Linked DNA regions of Homo sapiens: region 2 is linked to region 1. Evidence: promoter capture Hi-C in 16 types of primary human blood cells and fetal thymus (Javierre and others, 2016). All regions are on one chromosome and are shown on one strand. Each heading gives the region's core, a stretch centred on a gene start or on the middle of the fragment in contact. The rest is flanking DNA. Distances are from core to core; before and after follow the strand shown. Region 1 holds the start of DDI1 (DDI proteasomal shuttling factor 1). Region 2 overlaps GRIA4 (glutamate ionotropic receptor AMPA type subunit 4).

The links. Contacts are between HindIII fragments. The CHiCAGO score rates a contact against its expected background, and 5 or more counts as called.
Region 2: a fragment that was not itself captured here is called in contact with the fragment with the promoter of DDI1 in region 1 in 1 of 17 cell types (non-activated CD4 T cells); the score reaches 5.2 in non-activated CD4 T cells.

Annotation. Positions count from the first base shown.
Region 1 is chr11:104,033,964-104,038,790 of GRCh38, forward strand. DDI1 (DDI proteasomal shuttling factor 1) reads left to right here and starts at 2,677. Exons shown (of 1, transcript NM_001001711.3): 1 at 2,677-4,827. The coding sequence starts at 2,860. The coding sequence ends at 4,050. All of the region lies in intron 1 of PDGFD (platelet derived growth factor D), which reads right to left. The HindIII fragment of the contact is 9,840 bases long and covers 1-4,827 here.
Region 2 is chr11:105,770,491-105,775,317 of GRCh38, forward strand. The region is part of intron 4 of GRIA4 (glutamate ionotropic receptor AMPA type subunit 4); the gene reads left to right. Among named protein-coding and RNA genes, the nearest start is that of GRIA4, 160 kb to the left of the region's middle. The HindIII fragment of the contact is 517 bases long and covers 1,923-2,439 here.

The DNA of each region.
Region 1 (4,827 bases), core at 1,427-3,926:
AAAATTAAAAAATAATCCTTATATGATGAAACACTGTCTTTCCAGTTGAAAGCTCTAAGTCAGGTCATCTTCCTTCTCACCTTTGTGTCTCCACTCTGGCGCACCCTGCATGGCTGACTCCTTGTCATCTTTCTAAACCCAGTTCTTTCAGGATGTCTTCTCTCCCCAACATCCCTCACCATCTTCTTCATCTCTTCTTCAGATATTATTAATTTCTCCTGAATACCACTACTGTGGTATTTTTTACCCTTCAATTTGTGTGTGTGCATGTGCTCTAATTTAGACTGTGAGCTCCTTTAAGAATACAGCCTATATTTAACATTATTCACGTCTGTTTCCCTAGAACTTAGCACATGCTTCACATACACTGGGCGTTCAGTCAACATTTCTAATATAAGCAAATATGAGTATAGAAACATTATGATAATTAGAGCAGTGAGCGAGACATAGTCTTCCATCTGAGACAAATACATGAGAAACAGGAGCCAAAAAATAATTATTTAGGCTGATGTGACTTCCTTCTCTCCATAATGGAATAATGGTGTAACAGTGCAGGCCTTCTAACAACCCTTCAAAGAAGGGGGTGAAACTAGGCAGAGGATATCGACTATCTTGGTTCATAAGTAGGTACACCTGGGAGTACCAAGCCAGGGAAACATGAGCTCTGCACAGTGCAAAACACTTTTTTTTTTTTTTTGAGATGGAGTCTCGCTCTGTCACCCAGGCTGGAGTGCACTGGCGCAATCTCGGCTTACTGCAAGCTCCACCTCCAAGGTTCATGCCATTCTCCTGCCTCAGCCTCCCGAGTAGCTGGGACTACAGGCGCCCACCACAACGCCTGGCTAATTTTTTGTATTTTTAGTAGAGACAGGGTTTCACCATGTTAGCCAGGATGGTCTCGATCTCCTGACCTCTTGATCCGCCCACCCTGGCCTCCCAAACTGCTGGGATTACAGGCATGAGCCACCGCGCCAGGCAGCAAAACACTTTATTAAACATAGAGAAAAATAACTGGCATGCAAGGATTTCTACCCAATCATCATTTGCCTTGAAGGACTTTTCACCATGACAGCCTTGTATGTGTGTGTGTGTAAGTGGGGGTGGGGGAGAGTAGGGAGAAGGTGGCTGTGCCCAAATGTCAGAGAGAGGCATATTGGCCTCTAGGGTGGCATCCTTAATGAATTTTCCTACAGAACTGATGTCAAATGGGTCACCTCAAAGGTTCATCTCACTCATTCATTCATTCCCCTTCAAGGCAATGGCCCATCTACCCTATATCCCATTTTAGAGACCCTCTGTGTTATCCACACATTCCACTTTTTTACACTCCCCACCTCCAAGGGGTATGCACACTCTGTCCATTTTACTCAAGAAACATGTTTATTCTCTACTGCTTTGGCTTTGGGCCTCCTGACTTTCCACACTCTAGCAACAGCTCCCTCTTTGAACCACTGGAAAAGCCTCCTGACTGGCCCTCCTGCCACATTATGTCCTCCATGTGTTGCAAGAAGCCTCTTCCTTAAGTCAATTTAAAAAAAAAAATCACAAACACCTGCTTCAAATCTTTTCCCTTTCCTTTCCTTCCTTACTTCTTTTTCTTTTTTTTTTTTTTTTTTTTTGGAGGAGGAATTCTTGCTAATTGATAATATTTAATATTTAAACTCCGTAGATTCACATATGACTTCATCAATTGGCTCAACTAATTTTTTTCCAGCTTCATATCCTGGTATTCAAAGTCATGTACAATTTTTTTATTGCACAAAATGTCTCATCTTTCTCTAGAAATAACAGCCCTTGCCATAAATTCCTGCTTTTGTAACATGAAACTGCTTTCCTTTGGAGTGAGACCACTTTGCACCTGGAAGATGCTCATCCTTCAACATCCAGCTTGTCTCCTCCTTAGGAAAATATCCTCTGTTCTGTTGGTGATACTAAAGGCAGTACCCTGAACATGTCTTTGTAAAAGATTTTGCCTTTAGTATTGTGATTACCCATTCACCTGTCTATCCCTTTCCAGAAATGTGAGCTCCTCAAGGGCAGGCTCCAAATCTGACTTTCCTACTATGCACATAGAATGGTACTTGCCATGTAAGAAACAAATCCTTACTGTTTGGGGAAAAAACAAAAGTACAAAGAATACAACTCTAAAATGAACAAAACAAATGATAATATGCTGTTTAGAAAGTGTTGAAAAACTAGGCATGGTGGCTCACACCTGTAATTCCAGCACTTTGGGAGGCCGAAGTGTGGGGGATTGCTTGAGCCCAGGAGTTGGAGGCCAGCCCGGACAACACAGTGAGACCCCAAATCTATTAAAAAAAAATACAACAATTAGCCGGGCATGGTAGACTGTGCCTGTAGTTCCAGCTTTTCAGGAGGCTGAGAGAGGAGGACTGCTTGAGCCTACGAGGTCGAGGCTACAGTGAGCTGTGATTATGCCACTGTACTCCAGCCTGGGTGACAGGATAAGATCCTGTCTCAAAAAAAAATGTGTTGAAATCATTTCTTTCATATCATGTGTTAAATAGGCTTTGAAGGGCTGGCCTTGAAACCTGACAGCTTTGAGCCATCGTGTATCCATGGGAGTAGGCATTCTAGGTTCCAAACAGCACACTTAGAAATGGACTTTGGAACACAACGTGCTACCTCAAGGCTCCACCTGGCCACACAGCAGGCACTGAGGCTGGGAGACAGCCCCCAGACAGATGAGTGTCCGCGCCTCTCTGAGAGGTGAATGAGCCCGGACGGTCCCTACCTACCAAGTCCTGAGGAGCAGCGGCACCAACGACGCAGGCCCGCCCCAGCCCGCCAGTGAGCCGCCCATGCCCTCTGCTAGCCCGGCCCGCCCGGGCCCCCGCCATGCTGATCACCGTGTACTGCGTGCGGAGGGACCTCTCCGAGGTCACCTTCTCTCTCCAGGTCAGCCCCGACTTTGAGCTCCGAAACTTCAAGGTCCTCTGCGAAGCGGAGTCCAGAGTCCCCGTCGAAGAGATCCAGATCATCCACATGGAGCGACTCCTCATCGAGGACCACTGTTCCCTGGGCTCCTACGGCCTCAAAGATGGCGATATCGTGGTTTTACTGCAGAAGGACAATGTGGGACCTCGGGCTCCAGGGCGTGCCCCGAACCAGCCTCGTGTAGACTTCAGTGGCATTGCGGTGCCTGGGACGTCCAGCTCCCGTCCACAGCACCCTGGACAGCAGCAGCAGCGCACACCCGCTGCCCAGCGGTCACAGGGCTTGGCGTCAGGAGAGAAGGTGGCCGGCCTGCAAGGTCTGGGCAGCCCCGCCCTGATCCGCAGCATGCTGCTCTCCAACCCCCACGATCTGTCCCTGCTCAAGGAACGCAACCCTCCCTTGGCGGAAGCCCTGCTCAGCGGAAGCCTTGAGACCTTTTCTCAGGTGCTGATGGAGCAGCAAAGGGAAAAGGCCTTGAGAGAGCAAGAGAGGCTTCGTCTCTACACAGCCGACCCACTGGATCGGGAAGCTCAGGCCAAAATAGAAGAGGAAATCCGGCAGCAAAACATTGAAGAAAACATGAATATAGCGATAGAAGAGGCCCCCGAGAGTTTTGGACAAGTGACGATGCTCTACATTAACTGCAAAGTGAATGGGCATCCTTTGAAGGCTTTTGTTGACTCGGGCGCCCAGATGACCATTATGAGCCAGGCTTGTGCCGAGCGATGTAACATCATGAGGCTGGTGGACCGACGGTGGGCTGGGGTTGCTAAAGGAGTGGGCACACAGAGAATTATTGGCCGTGTTCATCTAGCTCAGATTCAAATTGAAGGTGATTTCTTACAGTGCTCTTTCTCCATACTTGAGGATCAACCCATGGATATGCTTCTAGGCCTAGATATGCTCCGGAGACATCAATGTTCCATCGATTTGAAGAAAAATGTGCTGGTCATCGGCACCACTGGCACGCAGACTTATTTTCTTCCTGAGGGAGAGTTGCCCTTATGCTCTAGGATGGTAAGTGGGCAAGATGAGTCTTCGGACAAGGAAATTACACATTCAGTCATGGATTCAGGACGAAAAGAGCATTAAAGCACGTTATAAATATGTTACCACCTTGAGGGAGCCTCAGGTCCCCGGCAATTATAAGTTAAGAGCTTACTGGCAATGTAATCATTAAAAAACATCAGTAACAACTAAACCTGGCCTTGGGACTACGTTCTCAGATGGGTAACTAACGTCAATCCTGATTCCTTGGTCTTGGTCCCTCTTCCATTTCCCTTGTCCAGAGATCACTGAAAGGCATCCTGGGAAGGCTCTGGAGGCTCCAGCTGATTTCCAGATAATCCATGAAAAAGAAAACCAGCTTCTTCCTTTAGAGACACTATCCTATCAGATTACAGGTGGCTTATCCAAATCATTGCTATTTTGCAGAATTCCCTGGAAAAATGCTATGGCTGCAGACCTTACAAGGCATCCACATAAAACTATTTCACATCAGCACTAATAATTCTTTCTACTGAGAGAAATATGCCCATTTTCACAGGTTTTGTTTTCTTTGGGAAGGGTATTAGAAATGGTAGGTCAGTTACACTATGATGTTAACTAATACTTATACATGTCTGTTTGGGGCAGCATAAAGACCAATTTCCTCATATTTACACCTTCCCTTCCCCTGGATCCCCTGCAGTCACCCTGCAATCCACAGCTAAAGACTATTTTTGCCATATTTGAGAAAGTGGATTTATCTCCAAGGATGCTACATTAATTTTCTATTTCTCCTGCATTCAAAGAAACTCTGGCTATAAAACAAAGGCAATAAATTAGATTTTTTAAAAAAGAAATTATGGTACTTCTTGGGAGTCAAGT
Region 2 (4,827 bases), core at 931-3,430, 1.7 Mb after region 1:
AAACGCAAAATTTATTTTAAGCATTTCAATATATGGTTTAAGAATATCCTCCCATTTAACATTAGTTTTAAATAAACCAAATCATCCAATTTCCTCCTATTTTCCAGTTGCCAAGTAGTTCTGGAGAAAAGCAAAAAACGGGATCACTTTGTTCCATTACACTGACTGAGACTCTCATTTCTTCTGAACAATTCTTCTACCTATCCCTAGTTAAAACCTACTTTTCCCCAAAGCCCATATTCCAAAGATTTTTCCAATTTTCACAAATATCAGCTGGACTTTCTCTACCCTTTTAATTCTCTATGGATTAGCCTATCTTTACTAAGACCATTTAACATAAGCCCTTCAGTGTTCTAAAAACATCAAAATGCTCTGAACATTCGTCCATCCATTCCCTCCTATGTTCTTCCTGCCATCAAGAAATAATTATTCCCTTCATCCAAGGCTGACTCTCCAAATGAGACCATATTTTCTTTCATAGTCGAAGATGTTTTTCTTTAATTATGTGTACTCCCTCCTTAACCTTAAGTTTCTCCTCCTCCTCTGTCTATACACATGACTACACATATCCAAAATTTCCCCAACCTATGAACAATCAAATACCCTCTATAACTTGTACTCTCTTAAGCCACTATGCTAGGTTTTTCATTGCCATATTCATTGAAAGCATACTCTACAAAGCTTTTTCTGCATCTTTACTCCTTAATCCTTTGCCATTCTAGTTCTATCCATGCCCACTCTACAGAATTTAACCTCTTCAAAAACTAACCTTCCTTTGTCCAAAAGCTATTTTGCACTATTTTTTGAAACATTATGCTCCTATGATTATGTTCAATATTTCATGTTTTCTGCCTTATATCCCTGACCGTAGACATAAGTATTCTCTATATTCAACCCTTATTACTCAACTCTGCTCTGTCAACATTCTCTTTGGGGACAATGCTATTTTTGCCCTTGCCCTAACTAAGATTTTGATATGAACCGTTCCCAAATCCCTGTCTCTATATGAGATCATGCTGGAGCTTTTGTCCTTTTTGCAAACAAGTTTCTCTAAGAAGGTATAAGGGACATTTTTTTGTAAACCAGATATTGATTTACACAGTGTATATATGTTCGCTTATTCTTAGAAACTATGCACTGAAGTAATTAGGAGTAAAAAGTCATGATTTATGCATTTTGCTTCAGAAAAGAAGTACAGTTGACCTTTGAACAATATGATTTTGAACTACACAGGTCCATTACATGTAAATTTTTTAAATAATCATATTGGAAAATTTTTTGATTTGTAACAATTTGAAAAAACTTGCAGATGAACCATGTAGCCTTATATTTAGGCATGTTGTGAATGCCTAAAATACATGTAAATACTAGTCTATTTTATCATTTACTACAATAAAATATATATAAATCTATTATAAAAATTAAAATGTATCAAAACTTACACACACACAGACTGTACATAGCTCCATTTGCAGTGGAGAGAAATGTAAATAAACTTAAAGATGCTGTATTAAATCATAACTGCATAAAATTGACTATAGTACATACTAATCCACTGTAATAATTTCATAGCCACCTCCTCTTGCTAATGCAGTGAGCTCAAGCGTTGTGAGTATTCACTTGAAGCGACATGTGATGCTAATCATCTCTACCTAAACAGCACAACTCTCCACTAAATTGCCTATTGCAGTAAAAAGAGATTATTCACGATTCTCCATCATGTTTAGTGAATACCATAAACCCTGAATAACGCCAACGTACCCGTGCCACTGGCAATGCTGGAAGTGCTCTCAAGAGGCATAGAAATGTCGTGACATTACAAGAAAAATTTGGATAGCTTGATATGTTCCATAGATTGAGGTCTGCAGCCACAGTTGCTCACCAATTCAGACAGACAATTCATCTTCTAAACAGACAATGTAAGCTTACAGTATCGAGAAACACAGTACAATGTGGTAAATGTATTTTCTGTTCTCTATGATTTTTCTGATAACATTTTTTCTCTTTATTGAAAGAATATAGGATATAATGCATATAACATATAAAATATGTGTTAATCAATTTTGGAGGGAGTTAAAAGTCATACTCAGATTTTTAACTGAGTTGGGGGTGGGTGCCCCAACCGTCACGTTGTTCAAAAGTCAACTGTATATATTATCCATAAAATGCACACACACATACACAAACATACACACACACACATATTTGCATATACTTATATATGTTTGTGTCCCTATTAACAATAGGTAAATTTGTGTAAAGAATATATACGTCTTTCTTGTATTATATTTATTTTTAAACTTTTCCATAAGTTAAAATTATTTCCAAATAAAAAATTATGAAAATGTGTGGGATGTAACTAAAGTACAGAAAGAAAAGAAAATTTCATAGCTTTGAAGACATTTATTGTAAAACAAGAAAACTAATACAAATAAGCTAAGCTTTAACTCAAGAAGCTAAAAAAAGAGAGCGAGGGAAACATCTCAAGTCTAAACACAGCAAAATGAATTCAACAATGCAGATGAGGAGAGAAATGAATATACATGTTTACAAAGCCACAGAGAATTTTAAGCTACCCATTCATTGCTAAATAGTGTCAATTTCCTCCTCCACCTTCCCCTACTCCTCCTTCTCATTCTTTTTTTAAAAAATTATTGACTTTATACATTAAATGTGCTTTTCTCCGTGTTTGTCTATTGAAATTTCACCTTCTTACAAGTACAAGGTACAGGTCCCTTCTTTGTCCTTAAGAGGGAGAAAGAAGAGACAAATCTAAAAGAAACATAGCAATGGTTCCAACCAAGGGGTTGAGCATCTATTTAAGAAAGGAACAAACAAAATAGCAGGTATATATTAATTTTCTATAAAACAAGCAACTAAATTGAAAAGAATTTAATGAACTGGCTTTATAATAACTGAATTCATAATTAATATTTAAATCTATAATGTTTATCCATGAACTAATATAATATCAAATCCACACATATAATTAAAAATTATAGAGTTTTAAAATATTACCCTTGGTTTATACAGGAGTATCATTAGAAGTAGCCCTCCAGCACGCTGGGCTCTACGCATCTCTGTTCTTACTGCCAGCAAATCTGATCTACAGAGTATAACATGTATTTCCCAAGCACAGACAAAGCAAAAGGAAAAGGGCTAGGCAGGAGGTAGGGACACCAGCTGCTGGGGAAACAAGTCTTCAGCAACCTGGCTTGTGAGCCAATCAAGGTTGCTAAGGTAGGTCCTGGGCCTAAACAGGGTACATTTCCACCTGGTTGGGGAGAATAAAATGACAGATACCAAAAATTAACAAGATAATCTATGGTCGATAACAAATTGATACAATAAACCATGAATTCTCTAAGAATTCAAAGAGGGCAAAAAAAAAAAAAGTAAGAGTATAATTAAAGTAATAAGTACTAATAAGTAATAAAAATATCATTAAAATATGGATATATGGGATTTGAATATTATACCTAATGAATTTTAAGATATAAAATTAATTATGCTACAAAGAGAATAAATTTTTTTGTATATGTTTTATGGAACATTTATAAAAATTGACTATATATTAAGTACCATCAAAATTAGTAGATTACAGAAAAGTAAAAATTATAGAAGCCACATTTGCTAGTATAGTGATAAATAAATATATGCTAATAGCAAAAATTAATCATTAGAAACAAAGATTTACATAAATATATTTTGAAATATAAAAAAAGAGCTTGAGGCAAAGAGGAAATCAAAAATTTAATATAAAACTATTTAAAAATAATGAAAAGAAACCAAAATAGCACTTTAAATAATGAATCACAGCCATACTGAGATATAAATTTATAGACTTAAAAAGTTTATTAAATAGTAAAAGATAAAAGTAAATCTACTACATGTAAAATAAAAACAGCACTTAAGATTTCTAAGAAAAGATGGAAATATGAAATAATAAAAGTGGAAATTGAAGGAATAGGGAAAAATGTATATCTTAATTTCAGGAACTTGTTTATTCAAAAGGCAAATATGTTTTAACATTCATCTTGAAGTAGTATTAATGTTTGAGGCTAATAAAAAGATGTAAAGGCATATTGGTGGTAGGAGAAATGTAAGCAGGGAGTAGGTGCCTTCTTACCAGATGTTACAATTTATAAAATAAAAATATTCAACTCTATTCCTGATCCAAAATTTATAGCCCTATCAATAAAAGAGAATAAAGAAATGAATTATACTTAGGGATTTAGTACAAAATAAGGATGACATTTCAGGTCAGTTTGAAACTTTTGTATTACACAATAAACAGTGCTTAATCATTTGGTTATTTGAAAAAATAAAATTAAGTCCCTGCATTTTATCGACTCTCACAACACATTATCAATATATATTAGTTTTCTATGGATGCTGTAATAAATTACTGCAAAGTCAGTGACTTACAACAGCACACATTTATTCTCCCTCAATCCTGAACGTCAGAAGGAAAAATTAGTTTCGCTAGGCTAAAATTAAGGTGTTCGCAGGGCCAAGCTCCTTCTGGAGGCTCTAGAGTAAAATCCATTTCTCTGCCTCCTCAGGCTTCCAGAGCTCCATTCCTTGCATTCTTTGGTACTTGGCCCCTTCCTCCATCTTAAAGCCCAGCAGCCTAGCATCTTCAAATCTCTCCCAGCTCCATCTTCACATGCCTTCTCCTCTTGCATCCCTCTTACCAGGACAATTGTGACGACAGAGCCACATGGACAATCCAGGATAATCTCCACATCTCAAAACCCTTCATTTAATCACATCTCCAAAACACATATTTTTCACATAAGACAATATTCACAGATTCCAGGAATT